Regions from separate parts of the Homo sapiens genome. Here region 1 is linked to region 2. The links are contacts of gene promoters, found by promoter capture Hi-C in human tissues and cell types (Jung and others, 2019). All regions are on one chromosome and are shown on one strand. Each heading gives the region's core, a stretch centred on a gene start or on the middle of the fragment in contact. The rest is flanking DNA. Distances are from core to core; before and after follow the strand shown.

Region 1 (3,865 bases), core at 1,266-3,765, 760 kb after region 2:
CAAATCCTTGCATAGTCTCCCCATGAGAGGGATACATTTGTTGTAACTGATGAGCCTGCATTGACGCATCATTACAACCCCAAGTCCATAATTTTCGTTAGGGTTTACGCTTGGTGTTTTACATCCTGTGGGTTTTGGGCAAATGTATATATGACATGTATCCACTGTTATAGTATCACACAGAGGAGTTTCACCACCCTAAAAATCCTCTGTGCTCTATCTATTCATGTCTCCCTTCTCCCTAACTCCTGGCAGGCAGGTACTAATCTTTTATTATCTCCATAATTTTACCTTTTCCAGAATGTCTTATGGTAGGAATCATACAGCATGTAGCCTTTTCTGATTGACATCTTTCACTTAGTAAGATACATTTAAGTTTTCTCTATGTCTTTTTATGGCTTGATAGCTCATTTCTTTTTAGCACTGAATAATAGTCTGTTATCTGGGTGTACCACAATTTGTCCACTTGCCTACTGAAGGACATCTTGGTTGCTTCCAAGTTTTGGCAGTTATGAATAAAGCTACTACAAACATCTGTGTGCAAGTTTTTATATGGGCATTTTTTAGCTCCTTTGGATAAATACAGAGAATTGTGGTTGGTAGCAATATGTTTATTTTTGTAAGAAAACACCAAACCGTCTACCAAAGTGGTTGTACTATTTTGTATTCCGAACAGTAATGAATGAGAGTTCCTGTTGCTTCACATCCTTGCCAGCATTTGATGTTTAACTTACAGTCTTTTCCCCTTGTTTAAACTCAGTGGAAGCAGTCATTTTTCTTCTCTTGACATTTAAAGAAAATTTTAATTATTTTACATATTTAAGTATATTTTTCTGAGATTATTGTGAAGCAAACACATTTTGTTTATACATATTAATTATAGATATTCTGTCAGGTGCAGCAGCTCACACCTGTAATCCTAGCACTTCGGGAGGCCAAGGCAGGTTGATCACCTGAGTTCAGGAGATTGAGACCAGCCTAGGCAACTTGGTAAAACCATCTCTACTAAAAATACAAAAAATTAGTCTGGGTGTGGTGGCTCATGCCTGCAATCTCAGTACTTTGCGGGGCCAAGGCGGGCAGATCACCTTAGGTCAGGAGTTCGAGACCAGCCTGGCCAACATGGCAAAACACTATCGCTACTAAAAATATAAAAATTAGCTGGGTGTGGTGGTGGGCACCTGTAATTCCAGTTACTCAGGAGGCTGAGGCAGAAGAATCGCTTGAACCCGGGAGGCAGAGGTTGCAGTGAGCCACGATTGTGCCACTGCATTCCAGCCTGGGCAACAGAGCAAGACTCCATCTCAAAAAAAATGTAAAAAAATAGAAATACAAAAAATTAGCTGGGCATGGAGGCATACACCTGTAGTTGTAGCTACTCAGGAGGCTGAGGCAGGAGGATCTCTTAAACCTGGGAGGTCAAGGCTGCAGTGAGCCCTGATCATGCCACTGCACTCCAGCCTGGGTGACAAGAATGCGACTCTGTCTCAAAAAATATATATATATAGATATTCTGAGGATATTTTTGCGGTAATGTATAAGGAAGCTCCTTATTGTCACCAAAGTAGATAGATATTTAGTTTATTCTATTAAAATGACAATCTTATATTTTGTCTAACATATAATTTAACAAAAAAGCATATAGACTTTTGGAATTATCCTTAGGAATATAAGTGATTGTTAAATTACTTGAGGGCATCTAGGCATGAAACTAGTAAAAATAAAATGTAAGACATTTATTGAGAATAATAAACTTTATTGAAGGACATAAGATAGGAATAAATGCAGAGTTATACCATGTTAATAGATATGAAGAATGAATTTATAAACTCAATGCAATGCTAATCAAAACCCCAGTAGGAGCTGATCAACTTACTTAAAAATTCACATGAAAGAGTAAAGCTATATAAAAAACTAAGATAAATTTGGAATAGGAAAACAAGGGGGCATGTGGTACCTAAGCACATATTAAGATGTATTTCTAAAACTATAATAATCAAAACAATGAAGTATTAGTATAGGAAAGATTGTTGGATCAGATTAGAGGAAGCTTGCATATATAGAAATCTGACATGTGATTGATTAGCATTGTAAAGCCAAGGAGAAAGGGCAGACTATTTAATAAATGGTGCTATTACAGTCAACTTCTCTACATTACAAAAATAAGTAAGTTCCAGATGAATTAAGGAGTAAAATGTGAAACACAAGGCTCTAAAAGGAAATAAAAATTTACATCAGAAACTAAAAACATTGAGTAGTGCTACTTTCTCTTAGCCTTATTTTTATTTATAATAGGGGGAAAATCTGGTTTTTCGATATATAAATTACGGTATACAGTCATGCATGTACTGAATAACAACAATGTTTCAGTCAACAATGGGCCACATATGTGATGTTGGTCCCAAAAGAGTATAATACTGTATTTTTACTGCACCTTTTCTGTGTTCAGAAATGTTTAGATATACAAATACTTACCACTGTGTTACAGTTGCTGACAGTATTCAGCACAGTAACATGGTATACAGGTTTGTAGCCTAAGAGCAATACCTAGATACCTACTAGGTGTGTAGTAGGCTATACCTTCTAGGTTTTGTAAATATTATCTATGATGTTCACACAGTGACAGAATCACCTAATGATGCATTTCTCAGAATGTATCCCTGTCGTTAAGCAATGTATTCATAGAATGAAATTCTATATAGGAGTGTTTTTTTCTTTTTTTAAAATTTACCACTTCCTTATATATAGGAGTTTAAGTGAATATTTCCAGAAATACGATCCAACTTTGATAAACCTCAAAGCAATGATTATCATAAAAGGCAAGTTTTAGAGGTTTGTATACACCATGATCCTTTATATATAGGAGTCTCCCCTCCACCCCTTTTTCCATGGCTTCACTTTCCATAGTTTCAGTTACCCACAGGCAACCGCAGTCTGAAAATATTAAATGGAAAATTCCAGAAATAAACAATTTTTTTTTTTGAGACAGAGTCTTGCTCTGTCACAGGCTGGAGTGCAGTGGTGCAATATCAGCTCACTGCAACCTCTGCCTCCCAGGTTCAAGCACTTCTCCTGCCTCAGTCTCCCGAGTAGCTGGGATTACAGGTGCCTGCCACCACACCCAGCTAATATTTGTATTTTCAGCAGAGACAGGGTTTCACCATGTTGGCCAGGCTGGTCTCAAACTCCTGCCCTCAAGTGATCTGCCTGCATCAGCTTCCCGAAGTGCTGGGATCACAGGTGTGAGCCACTGCACGCGGCCCAATTAATAAGTTTTAAATTGTATGCTATTCTGAGTAGTGTGATGAAATTTTGTGCTCTCCTGCTCAGTCCCACCTGGGATGTGAATCATCCCTTTGTTCCGCATATCCATGCTTTATATGCTACTCGCGCATTAGTCACTTAGTAGCTGTTTCAGTTACCGGATTGACTGTTGTAGTACTGCAGCAGTTGTGGTCAAGTAACCCTTATTTTACTTAATACTAACCCCCCATGTACAAGAGTAGTGATGCTGGCATGTTGTTTTAATTGTTCTATTTTTTTCTTAGTTCTTTCTGATAATCTCTTATTTTGCCTAATTTATAAATTAAACTTAAAAAAATTTTTTTTCTTCTTTTTTGAAAATGAAAATGTTTGACTGGCCTGGGAAGGCTCCTCCCACCCCTCAAAGCCAGAGCTAACAAAGTTGTTCCCTTTAGGGTCCAGATGGAGGGAACCAGGATAGGGACTGGGAAGGGACCAGGAAGCAATGAAGGGAAGGAGTGGAAAGGAATAATCCAAATGGAGAGGAATAAAGCCTCCAAAATCTACCTAAAAGTAGGAGATCTTAGATCCAGGGAAACTTCCTCCCAGTGTGGTCAGGGAG
Region 2 (3,698 bases), core at 353-2,852:
CATGGTGTGGCCTGCGTTGTACTGGGTGGGTCGGACGAGGGAACCTGGGGAAGGAGGAGTAAGGGCCAGGGTCCTAGAAGAGGTTTTCTGGGGTCAGGGCCGCGGTGAGCACCAGGTCGCCAGGAGCAGCCGGCGTCGCCTCTGGCGCATCCGGGCCCATCCCCCACAGCACCCCCAACGATCTCGGGGTCCAGCCACACCCTCCGCCCGCCCTGCCTCACCCCTGCTTCCCCAGCCCCCAACCCGGCCCGGCCGAGAGGAAGGAGCCAGCCCCGCCGGGCCGCCGCCTGCGACTTCCCCTCTGATCCACAGGTGCCGGTAAACAAAAGTGCCGCAGCTACCCCCCCGCCCCCACCCCGCGGAGTTCGGCCCAAGGTTACGCCGGGGTTCGGGCGGCGCCCGCCGGGGGCCCCCAAACCCAGCTTCTGGACTCTCCCCGGCTTCTCAAGCCCACCGGGCCGGGAGCCTTCCTCTGGCTCCGAGCTGCTCCCCTCGCTCCAGGCTGGATTCCCCCCTGAAATGTTGGTCCGGGAAAACCAGCCTGGGTCCTCGCGCGCCCTTCTGCACGGGGACCCCAGCCCACCCCCGTACGGACACGCCTTCCACCATCTCGCCTAGAAGGCTGCTGGGACCCCAGACCCAGAGCCCCGGTCACACTCCCGTCCCATGCTGTCCCCCTCCCGCAAAGCCCACGGTGGGAACAGAGGGCACCGCGCGAGCCGATGCCACCCTCACTGCCGGCCCCACCCAGACCTGCCGGTGCTGCAGTGCCCCGTATGTGCAGCCTGCAGCATCCCAGCGGCTGGGGCAGGCCCGGGGGCGGCTCGCACAACGCAGCTGGGGACCGGGTCGGGGTCCAGCGGCAGCCGGGGTCCGGGTCCCCCCGGCCCCGCACCCCTTCCCACTCCCGGCCCGCAGGGGAGACCCCGGAGCGCGCGACCCCGGAGCGTCGGGCAGGTGTGGAGCTGGGGGTCCCGGGGCTGGGGGGTCCCAGGGCCGCCGGCCCGGGCCGCAGGGACAGGGGAGGGGCGCTGGGCTGTGACCCCCAGTACTGTTTACTTTCCGTGTAATTAGCCGGCCAGGCTGCGGAGCCTCGGGCTGCGACGTGCGGCGGCCGCTCCCGCAGACCCCGGAGCTCAATCCCCGAACCCGCAACCCCGGGTCTCTGCCTTGGCAGCCCTGCGGACTCACGTCTCGGAAGCGGTTCCAGTGCTTGATCTTGCCGCTGTACTGCGAGATGGACGACAGCCATTGCTCGTCCTCCATGAAATTGCCGGGGGTCTCGCCCTCCTTGAGCCCCTTGGCGTCGCCTTCGGCCAGGGCTGCCGCGGCCAGGAGCAGCAGCGGCAGCACCAGCCGCCCGCAGCCCGGGGCGCGCATCGTGGTCTGGGTTCGACCTGGGGGGGTCTTGACTTCTGCAGTATTTTAATGTCCTTCCTCCCACCCCGCTGCTGGCGAAGCGCACGCGGCTGTCCTCAGCTCTCCTCCCGCGGTCTGCCTCCGGTGACTGGCGGAGAGTGGGTCGCGGCTGAAATGTGACCTGGTTAGGAGATGCACTTGTCTGAAAAAGCCCAGCACTGGACGCGGAGAGGGAGAGAGAATCAGAGAGGCTGCGCCAGCAGGGGCTGTAACTGTAGCATCAGCATCACGTTTGACATCATCATACCTGGTTTAAAAAAAAAAAAAAAAAAGGAGTGGGTAGATTTCAAAGCGAAGCGCTCCCTCGATGAGAGCGCCAAACGCCAGCCAGCCGCAGCGGGGCCCAGCCCCGCCTGGCACACAGGGAGTTGCAGACCAAGAAATCCAGAATCCCGAAATGTCCCTGAGCTCCCTCAAAGGATGGAGAGCAAGAAGGGCCCCAGGATCTCCCCGGGGAAGATGGGATGGGGGAGAGGGCACAAAACTCTCCGGTTACAAAGCCAGCCAGGCTCAGGTGTCGGAAAGGGAATTTGGCCAGACACTGTTTTTCTCCCCTTGCCTCCCACCCAGAGGGGCCTGCGCCACAGCCCTGACAGCTGGCTTCCTGCGAGTTATGGCTCTACCGTAATGGGTGGCTTCGTTAAGACAAAAGCCGTATAACAACTGGCTGCTCAGAACCATTGCTCCCCAGCGGCACCGCGTTGCGCAAGGCAAGGCCTGAGCACTGAGTGGCTGGTGAAACAGAGGCAGATGTCCTCCTCCCCAGGCAGCTGTTTAGGGGCTGTCACCCGTTTTGTCAGCTCTTCCCAGGACAACCCTAAAAGGCAAATGTCTGACCATTTCATCTGCCTTGGAGGCTGCAAATTTGGAAAAGGCATATTTGCTTATGGTTTTTTGACTTCAAGTTAGTTTGAATAAGCCACTGGGGAAGCCGGGGAGTGGGGGGCTGGGGTGGGGTGCTGGTTTTGTTTGAGGTGTTTCGGGTTTTGTTGAAACTGCGACCCTCCTTATTGGCTGTAGATTTAAATGTTGACATACCAGCGGGGAAGGCTGGAGGCTGGCCACAGTCCCAAGAGCACAGCAGAAATGGGGACAGGTTTACATTACAAATACATTAAAGAGGAAACATCATCTGATGGGACAAAACCTAGTGAACTTTTGGGACCCAAGCCCTAGATTGTGTTTTTATAAAAAGACTTAGCTGCTGTGATCTAAAAATAAAATAAAAATTTAAAATGCTTTAAAAAACATAATCTTAATCAGTAGGAAAAAACATAGCTTACAAGGTTCCTTGTCACCCTGAATCTGGCCTATCTGGGAACTCTGAATGCCTCAGTGGCTCAGGCCGGAGTCTCGTTGGGAAAACAGAAAACAATAGCTCCCTTTCCATGTTTTCTTGTTTCCTTTGCTGTTGGATTTAGTGGTGGTGCTGCAGTGAGGCCCTGGCCATTGACGTCTTCATCTCACAGTAATAAAGCATTCTTCCTGGGTGTGTCCTGGCGCTGTACAGTGAGAGAGCACGGCTTGCTGTCGTGGAGACTAGAGGACAGAATCCCACTTACTGGCTGGATTCTTGAGCAATTACCTATTTTCTATCTAAAACTAATGGTAATACCATCATTAAAACTGCTGTAAAGTGCAAGCAAAATTACATACTAAGTGGGCATAATGGGCATTTTTTTAAAAAGTTAGTCTTTCCTCTGGTTGGGAAGAGAAGGCTACGGTGTCCCATAGTTCTGAAGATTCATCAAAATTTGCCATCTTTTCCACCATCTCAATCCTACAATCCTAGTTTTTTGTTGTTTTTTTTTTTTTTGTTTCTGTTTTCGTTTTTAGCAAAGCTAGCTATATATCTCTAAGGCACTTAGGAGATAGGTACCAGATACCACAGCTCTCCCATTCCTGTGCTATCTTAGGGGCTTCCAGAGTTACCAAAGTTGCTGAATAAAGAGTTTGGAAAGGTGCTGTCAAGATGCCCATCAATATGACAATAGCTGTCTCCAGACTCTGAGGGTCAAAATGGCTCCCACAGTCCCAGGTAGCTTCTCCAGTGGGACTTGCCTTCTGTAGCACCTTCAAGCTGGGTCAATACTAGTCCTGTGTCGAAAGCTAATCAACAACATTCCAGTCCCATTAGTGAAGCCAATAGTAATGCTATTTAGGAAGAAGAACCCAAATTTCCAGATGACTGGTGTAAAACTTGTAGGAAATGGCCAATAGTTTTAGTTTACAAAGAAGAAAAAAAGGGCCAGGTGTGCTGACTCACACCTGTAATCCCA

Evidence for each region. Contacts are between HindIII fragments. The study calls those that stand out against the background at their distance.
Region 1: a fragment that was not itself captured here is called in contact with the fragment with the promoter of SPOCK2 in region 2 in 1 of the 25 tissues and cell types used here (lymphoblastoid cells).

The regions. Positions count from the first base shown.
Region 1 is chr10:72,843,081-72,846,945 of GRCh38, forward strand. All of the region lies in intron 2 of MCU (mitochondrial calcium uniporter), which reads left to right. Among named protein-coding and RNA genes, the nearest start is that of OIT3, 49 kb to the right of the region's middle. The HindIII fragment of the contact is 5,105 bases long and covers 1-3,865 here.
Region 2 is chr10:72,086,949-72,090,646 of GRCh38, forward strand. It overlaps SPOCK2 (SPARC (osteonectin), cwcv and kazal like domains proteoglycan 2), which reads right to left and starts at 1,603. Exons shown (of 11, transcript NM_001244950.2): 1 at 1,192-1,603. The coding sequence starts at 1,380. The HindIII fragment of the contact is 11,919 bases long and covers 1-3,698 here.